Regions from separate parts of the Homo sapiens genome. Here region 1 is linked to region 2. The links are contacts of gene promoters, found by promoter capture Hi-C in blood cells and fetal thymus (Javierre and others, 2016). All regions are on one chromosome and are shown on one strand. The core of a region is centred on a gene start or on the middle of the fragment in contact, and the rest is flanking DNA. Distances in the headings are between cores, read along the strand shown. Region 1 overlaps SHROOM2 (shroom family member 2). Region 2 holds the start of WWC3 (WWC family member 3).

What was found. The method cuts DNA at HindIII sites, captures the fragments that hold promoters and counts their contacts. A CHiCAGO score of 5 or more calls a contact.
Region 1: a contact is called between a fragment that was not itself captured here and the fragment with the promoter of WWC3 in region 2, in 2 of 17 cell types (neutrophils and monocytes). The highest score is 6.7, in neutrophils.

What each region holds. Positions count from the first base shown.
Region 1 is chrX:9,877,009-9,881,494 of GRCh38, forward strand. The region is part of intron 2 of SHROOM2 (shroom family member 2); the gene reads left to right. Among named protein-coding and RNA genes, the nearest start is that of CLDN34, 88 kb to the right of the region's middle. The HindIII fragment of the contact is 3,249 bases long and covers 1,349-4,486 here.
Region 2 is chrX:10,012,637-10,016,976 of GRCh38, forward strand. WWC3 (WWC family member 3) reads left to right here and starts at 2,618. Exons shown (of 24, transcript NM_015691.5): 1 at 2,618-3,037; 2 at 3,040-3,222. The coding sequence starts at 2,943. RefSeq lists enhancers at 733-1,616, 1,617-2,500 and silencers at 2,321-2,490, 2,531-2,590. The HindIII fragment of the contact is 8,733 bases long and covers 1-4,340 here.

The DNA.
Region 1 (4,486 bases), core at 1,723-4,222, 140 kb before region 2:
TCCCTGTAGTGACAGCTGCTACACGTCTTATTTTGTAGGCTCATTTTATCTTTGTATGTGTGGGGACCAGGGGACCAGGCAGCCAGGATAGGATTGCGATGGGCCACTTTCACAAAGCGGTGGCATCTTGTTTCACAGGCATGGGCAACGTGGACCTTGTGGTCGTTGAGAAGCTGGTGCTGGGAAAGCGATGCGGGAGGAGACAGGCGGATCACTATCTCCGCAGACAAATGAGGGCCAGCGCTTCCTCTCGCCCAGGGCAGTGGGAGCTGGAGACAAAGAACTTGTAACAATCAGCCCTACCAAGTGCATGTATGTTCTTCCTTGTGAGGTCCAGGTGGCATCCACGGCCCGAGATGTCAGGGGAGGGGTGCTGCCCAGGAGTCAGATCTGTCGGTTAGGTCAGGAGGAGAGGCTGAGGCTGGCAGTTTTGCTTTTCTCTTTCTTCCCAGGCGGTTTGTTGTTCTGTCTCTACTTGGCAGGGGAGTGCTCCTTGCAGGAAAGTTCAGGGCAGACATGTAGCCTTTTATTATGTGTATGTGTGTGTCCAGTTTTTTTCCACTGCACTGTTTTCCTAGGTGCCCAGGCCCACCCCTGGAGAGTCCTGGGCAGGTCTTGAATGGATCTGGGCTCTGGAATCTTCACACAGAGCCACAGGCTATTTCGCTGGGCATTAGCAGCGGATCTACCGCTTGCTGGCCTTAAGCACAAGTTCTTGGGAAGGTTAAGGCCAGAAACCGGGTGACCCTTTGGCATTTTCCTCATTAACTTAGCCCAGTTGGGTTAGTGCAAAAGGGAGGTCTGCCTGATGCCCTCAAGCTGCTCCGGAGGAGAGGAAGCAGGGTTGGGAGGGTGGGGAAGGACCGAGAAGGGGACGGCAGCTCCTAGCTTAGCTGGGCTCATCCTATCCACTCGGTGCCAGGGACCGTGGCTGTTGCCTGTTGCTGTCTTCTCTCTGAAATCTGCGTTAACAGCTCTAGGGACAGAGTCATCCATTTTTCTCCCTTCAGAGGCAAATGGCTGTTAAGTTCAGCTTCTAAAAAGCACCTGTAATTTCAAACACCCTAGGGAAAATTTCTTTTAAATATCACATCATAAATTATTTTCTAAAGCTTTGCAATTACCCTTTTGGCTTTTTCCCCAAATATGCATTATAATATTAGTTTTGTTTACAGCAAATCCACCTGCCACCTTGTCACAGACCCCACTCTGGGCAGTTTCTCTTGAACCGGTCATGTGTTGCGAGTCATTTTGTGGGGGCCAAATCGTGGATAGGGTTGATTCATGTCACTTCCTGCCTCTTTGCTGGCAGCCCTAAACCCTCTTGTGAATCTAATTACATCCACTAAGCTTGCATTCAGGAGCAGCTTAGCAGCAGAGGGAAGGGTTTTCTGCATCAGGCTGCAAGGGTTTGCGAGACCATGTGGTGTGGTCCTGCATTTGAAGAGAAGAGGCTGCATGTCGAGGGAGAGCACTCATGTTTGCTAGGAGCTGGTTTCTTACAACATGCGTCCCGTCTTGGGCATTGCTAAGGTGCCCTGACTGCTGCTCCAAGCCCACATTGTGCTGTGCCCCCCTCTGCTGCTGGCTCCTTGGAGCTGTCCTGGAGCAGGTGGCCCTGCAGCCCTAAGGTTGATTAGCACAGATGTTCCGGGAGCTGCTACTCGCAACGGTGGCAGCAGTAAGGGGCCGCCTAAGACGTCAGCAGGTTTACACCCCCACCCCACTCCCCCAGCACCCCACCCCCTCCAGAACTACTCCTGAGGCAGAAATGGTGCATGGTCAGATGGAGGGCATGCTCCTTAGTGGGGACACTGGAGGACGTCAGGTGAAACCCATGCCTTCGAGGCTGTCTGATGTCTTTGTCTGTGATTCAGGAGTGGGTATTTCTATTCTGTGAGCATTTGGGGTCTAATGGCTGTTTGCTACTGTGCTTATTTTCTTGTTAAAACAAAGGAGACCCTGACTGGTTTAGGCTATTTTCCATTATTGTTTTTATTTCATTTATTTATTTTATTATGAGTGAAGGAAAGAAAGGAGAGAGGGAGGGAGGGAGGATGGGAAGGAAGGAAGGATGAAATCTTGCTCTGTTGCCCAGGCTGGAGTGCGGTGGCTACTGACAGGCACAATCATAGCTCACTGCAGCCTCAAACTCCTGGGCTCAAGTGATCCTCTTGCCTCAGCCTACTGAGTAGCTGGGACTACAGGTGCATGCCACCATGCCCAGCTTATTGTTTTTATTTTTTTTTATTTAATTTTATTTTTTCTATTTTTTTGAGACAGAGTCTCCTTCTGTTGCTGGAGTGCAGTGGCAAGATCTCGGCTCACTGCAACCTTCGCCACCCGGGTTCAAGCGATTCTCGTGCCTCAGCCTCCCCAGTAGCTGGGACTACAGGCGTGTGCCACCACACCTGGCTAATTTTTGTATTTTTAGTAGGGATGGGGTTGCGCCATGTTGGCCAGGCTGGTCTTGAACTCCTGGCCTCAAGAAATCTGCCCCACTTGGCCTGCCAAAGTGCTGGGATTACAGGCGTGAGCCACTGCACCCGGCCAGCTTATTGTTTTTATTAAGTAAAATCAGGAGAAAAAAGAAAACCACATAGATCAGAATTGTTTTATTTTGGGGAAAGTTACTTCTATTGGGGTTTTGCCTTAGTGTGTGGTTTAGCTAATTTAATCAGATGAATCAATGTTTGCAAATAGTGATGGTTTCTAATATAGTAAGACTTACAGAGAATGTTTAGCTTATTTTTGTGTTGTTTTGGGGTCTCTGGAGGACCTGTATGTGCTATGCAGTGGGATCCACACTGTACAGGTTAAGTTTATTTTGAGGTTCAAGGAATTGAGAAGTTAGCATTAGCCTTAACGATGAAGTTTAAATGACTTTTATTTTTTTATCGGTTCCACAAATGATGTAGACTTTTATTTTTTAAAACAGAGCAGCTGTAATGAGATCCACCAAATTGAAAGCCCTGAGCTTTAGGAGAAAAGGTTGATCTACACTGGTTGAATTCCCAGTTTGCTATTGGCTTGGAAAGAAGAGTGTTCTGGTGAGATTTTGAGAGCAGACTCTGGGAATGTCCTCTCTTGAGACTTGAGGGCGCAGGGATCTGGGGACAGGTCTTGGTGTCTGTCATCTGGGAGGTAGTGTCCTGCGAGAGGCAGCAGCCCAGCAGACACCAAGGGCCCCTGGGATCACGTGCTGACCTCTTAGTGGGCTTAGCAGGGCAGGAGGCCCACATGTGGCTTCTGTCCAGTGTGCCACTCGCCCTTGCAGTCACCCCTAAAGGACAGGTAGATGAGGCCTTTGCAGGTCGAGACGTCCCCAAAGGCTCTGTCTGTCCCACATGGAGCACACTGAGCGGGTCCCCTCTCTGTCCATCCCGTCCTTGGCTGTGGTGGCACTGGCACGCTGTGGCATGCTCTGCCCTGCACTGGCCGCTTTGTCCAGATGGAGACAAACGTGCTTTCAGTGTGTTGCCAAGGGGCAGGGAGAGGTGATATTGGCAGAGCCATGAGCGATGGCTGCCCGGCAGGTCATAAAGGCGGAGTAAATGTCGCCTCTTCTTAGAACTGTCACCTCAAGCCCGGTTACCACTAACACCCATTGGTTCCAAGGTGGGAGAGTTTGGGGGAAGAAATGAAGTACCCGACACAGCCTTGGCCCTTTCTACAAAGTGAGGGGCATACCTTATCTGTAACAAAAGCCTGTTTTTTTTGTTGTTGTTGTTTGTTTGTTTTAATGTCACTTGCTAATTTATTCACACAAAGAAAATGCTCCATAATGAAAACAACTTCATCCCATGTCTCCCTCCCACCCACACACACTCAAACCCCTCCTGTCCCCAACTGCAAGATGCGTTCCTACGTCTTGGCTATCTGAAGGTACTTTTAGAACCAAATCCTCATAAAAACCATTTAGAATAGTTGCCTGATAACTTGGTTTTATTGTTAAAGAAAGCCTGTTTGTGGCAGTTAGAGTCCAAAGGCCTTTGGAATGGAATGGAGTGGCATGTTTAAGGAGAGTGCTCAGAAGGCTTTGCTGAATGGTAGTCATGACAGCATTGATGGGGAGGTGAAGTGGGCTGATTAAATAACTCGAGTAGTTCCGACGTCCAGACCATGTTTTGGTAAGGTAGCCAGCGTCATGGACAGGGCAGGTAGCAACAGTTCTCTGCACCACGGAGGGTAGTTGTACCATTTACTCTGCTGGTTGTGGGTGTGCTTGCCTTTAATAGTACGGAAAGCAAGGTCATTGGTCTGCAGTTATAGTAAATGACAAAGAAGAGGAAGGAATCAGATCTTTCTTCAGTGATTTCACTACTTTGATTTGCCAACTATGACATGGTGGTTTATTAAATGTAAAGACACAGAGGAATGTTCTCTGGCTCAATGCCCTTGCAAAGAAAAGGATGCCTGCCACCCTCTCGGTGAGATGATAAGTGATCAAATAAGGGAAGATTTTTATCAGCCATTCGGCATATGT
Region 2 (4,340 bases), core at 1,368-3,867:
GTGACAATTGTATTACAAGGGCCTATTTCTATGTTTAGTCCCCAAGGGAGTGCAAGCTGAAGCACAGACTATCCTCTTCCCTGCAGCATGCCTACACGCAGCACAGTGTCTGCGCGTGGGAGGTCCACTATTTGCTGCCCGCCTGAACGGGTAGAAATCTTTCACCTTCAGTGAAGACTCCTCGGCGCTGGCCTCTTTGAGCTCCTAATTGGATGCAGTTTCCCCCACTCCTTGCTCTACCTGATGCTTTTTTCATCTTGCCTTTCCTTCTGAGTCCTTTGATGTGTGGTGTATGTGTTCTCCTCTTTCCACTCTCTCTCTGCAGAAGTCGGTTTCACTCCAATACGCCCCAGCCCCATTCAAAGTACTTTCGAGTGATAGATTTGTGTCCAGATTTGTGAGATTCTAAAAGGACCAGGTGACAGGGAGGGTGGAAATGCAGCTTCAGAACGGCCATGTTGGGTGGTAAGGTAAGAAGGCAGTGGCAGCCCCACTGGCGATAAATCATGCCAATCGGAAGGGAAGATGTCAGAGCAGGGACACTCAGCACTTGGGGCATTCCCTGGCACATGCGACATCACAAAATATGTGCTTTTTTGACCCTCCCACTCTTTCCCTTGGACATGTAATAATCACACATGTTTAAAAGGACTCATGCGGTGGAATTTCTCACATAGAACATTCAGGTAGGGGTAGATAGATACTTGGGGAGCAAGAAAGTTTCTGTGTTGTAGTAGGAGGAGGGAGAGGAAAGACCTTCCTTGGATAGTTTTTTGGACGTCGCTATACCTTCACAACTTCACATTCTTCTTCTTCTTCTTCTTCTTTTTTTTTTTTTTTTTTTTTTTTTGAGACAGGGTCTCTGTTCCATCGCCCAGCCTGGAGTGCAATCGTGCAAACACGGCTCACTGCAGCCTCGACCTCCCTGGCTCAAGTGATCCTCCCACCTCAGCCTCCCAAAGTGTTGGGATTAAAGGTGTGAGCCACCGAGCCCGGCCCCACATTCTTCTAATTTTTTTTTTGTTGTTGTTGAGATGGAGTCTCACTCTGTCGTCCAGGCTGGAGTGCAGTGGCGCGATCTCAGCTCACTGCAACCTCCCAGGTTCAAGCAGTTCTCCTGCCTCAGCCTCCCGAGTAGCTGGGATTACAGGCGTGCGCCACCATGCCCGGCTAATTTTTGTATTTTTAGTAGAGACGGGGATTTCACCATGCTGGCCAGGCTCGTCTCGAACTCCTGACCTCGTGATCCGCCCGCCTGGGCCTCCCAAAGTGCTAGGATTACAAGCGTGAGCCACCGCGCCCGGCCCATTCTTCTTTTTTAAAACAACCTTTCCCCTCATAAAAGTAATATTACCATTTTACAAAAAATTGGAAGGCAAATCATTTTTAAAAATCCCGCCAAAGGAATGCAAACTCTTGTGAGCATTTCAGGACATTTTCCTCCAGTCTCTTCCCCTGTGTATCTGGATTTCAATCAGGCTCTACCAGATATTTTTGTATCACTGTAACTGTTTAAAAATCTCCCTGATACTGTCCTGCATTTCCTGGCATAACGTGTTGCGGCTGTGGGTCTGGGGCACGAAGTAGGTGGGAGATTTAGAGCAAGACACAGCCCCAACTCTGGAGCTTCAGCTTCCCCAGCTGGGAGCCAGTGAAACAGAAGTTCCCGTCTAGGCTGAAAGTTTTAGGAGTTGACCCGGCTTCCTCCCCAGCAATGGTCTACTTGGGTCTCCGCTCAAACGATCAGACCCCACAAACCGGATGAAGCGCTCAGGGAAGGTCAAGGAACTCCCGCCTAGTGTGGGCCCCCAGGTTAGCCCTTCTAGGGCTGTCCTGGCGGGGACGCAAAGTGGCCACCTGCCCAGCTGCCCGCTTCCAGAGGCGTCCTCCCTGCGCCGCCCGAGAGGACCGGCCGCGGGCTCCCCCAGCTCCTCAGCTCCCTCGGCCCCGCCTTCAGGGGCTTTTCCCACCTTCGCGGGACCAGACGGGTTGTGTGGGAGACCGAGGGCGCAGCCTCCCGCCAAGTGCGCAGAGGGTCTCCAGACAGCCAGAGCCCGGGAGCGGGTGAAGGGAGGGCACTGCCCGCTCTCTCGGGAATTGTTTGCGCCCGAGGAGTCACCCCAGGCAGGCCGCGCCCGCAGTCCGGGTAGGGCGTCGTCCTCCCCGCCCGCCTTCCTCTACGCGGGGGCCCGGGGGCGGACTGACGCGGCGGCGCCCATCCTGGCCTCCATGCGGTTTCCCGAGGCCGGAGGAAGGTGGCGGAGCGGGAGGGAGAGAGCGAGGAGCGCGCGGAGAGGGAGGACGGCGGAGGGGGAGGAGCAAGCGGAGGGGTGGGGGTGGGGTCGAGGAGCCGAGCGCCGAGGAGGACCCCGAGGGAGACTGGGGGCGGAGCAGCCGGCGACGGAGAGGCGCGGAGGACGCGGGGCCGGGGGAGGCGGAGCAGCGGGAGTGGGTGGAAAAGCAGAGGCGGCGGGAGGAGCGGGAGCCTCCGTGGGAGATTCGGGAGGAGCAGCCGGCGTGGGTGGAGCCGCCGGCGTGGGAGGAGCCGCGGGGCCTGGGTGAGAACGGGGCGGGACGGCCGGAGGCGGGGCCTGCGAACGCCCTGCCCCTGCTCGCCCGGGCCGCGCCGAGGAACGAAGATGGCCGGGCGCGCCGCGGGAACGGAGGGGCGGCCGGCAGCGGCGGCGGCGGCGGCGGCGGCTCCCGGGCTGTGACTTCGCGCGCGGCGGCCACCCGGGCTACCTGAACGGAGTGGGCGGCGCGGGCAGCGGCTTGCTAGGGCGGGCGGGCGGACGCCGGTGCACGGGCGCCGGGCGGAGGATGCGCCAGGAGCGGCGGGCGGCTCCCCGCGGCCGCCCCCGCGCCCCGGGCGCCGGGCCTTAGTGCTGGCGGAGGAGGCGGCGCGCGCGGGGCGGCCGGGCGGCGGCGGGGCCCGCGCCGTCATGCCTTGGCTGAGCGGCGGCCGGCGGCGACGGCGGGGACAGCCGCGCGAGGCCCCGCGGGAGCCGCCGCCTTCTGCGCAGCCCCAGCGGGAACCGCGCCGCCGGCGCCCCCCGCCGCGGTCCCCACGCCCCCAGCTCCTTCCGCGCCGCCGCCGCGGGCCCGGGAGAGCGCCGAGCTGCCGCTGCCCGCCGGCTGGGAGGAGGCGCGAGACTACGACGGTCGCGTCTTTTACATTGACCACAACACGCGCCAGACGTCGTGGATCGACCCCCGCGACCGGTAAGCGGGCCGGCTGGGGGCGCCAGACCCGGCGCGGGCGCTACGACCCGGGCCGCCGGCCGGCGCCACCGCGGATGCGCTGGGGACACGCCCCGCCCAGCGCGGGGCCGCCGCCGAGAGCCCCCGGGCCCGGGCAGAGCTCGGAGCGCCTCCATCCCCGGAACCAGGGGACTCCCTGGAGTGCTCCGGTCCAGGCTACGATCGAGGCGCCCCCATCCCTTGGGCCCAGGGAGAGGATCGGAGACACCAGGAGGCCCTCGGGGCTGGGTGAAGATCTTTGGTTCCGGGGGTCCGGGAGAGGATCCACCCTCCCAATACCCCGACTCCCAGGGCTCTGACCAAGAATGGAGGTGCCCCTTCTCCAGGCCTCGAGCCCTCTGAGCGCCGAGGCCGGCCGCCTACAGGTCCCCCGCCGCTGGGCGGACCCTCTCATTCGGTTCCCTCACGTCACCCGCTGTCCGGCGCCTGGGAACTGGGCTCCTGGAATTTCCTCTCCTGGGGCTGACAGATGGCCCTCTTTTCCTTTCTCTGCGGCAGCCTCGCCCATCCCGGTCCCGGGCGTCTGCGGCCCACTGCCCCGGCCCTGGTTCTGCAGGTGTCCCCAGCCCCGCGGTGGCGAGATGAGCTGTCACCTTGGATCACAAACGTGCGCCCCAGCTTTGGGGTGCGGGTTCCCTGTCTGGCGGGTTCAGGCTGGTTTCCATCCAAAACCTGATGTCAGACGGGCCCTTGAGGGATTCCCAACCCTTTTGGAGTTGGAGAAGTCTGTTCCCAAACTCTAGTTGCTCTTTAGCGCCTTAAAACTCGTGAGTTAAAACTGTTTGAAATAGCCTTCTGTACTGCAGCCAGAATGCAATATGATTAGTCCCATATGCTTTTGGAATAAACGAAAAACAAGAATTGTATTTTAAGTTTCCTTTTTGTGAAAGATATGCATGGGGTACAAAGCTGTCTTATTCACGTATAAAAACCCAATCAAGTAAAAACTGATTCTTGTAAAAGCACTATCAGATTTCATTTAATTAATTCCATGTAACGAAGCTCTTCCTTAACTTTTTGCTCGATTGTCTACGGGTTTCGATTGTTCAACTGCTTTTACAGAGATGTATTTTGTGTGG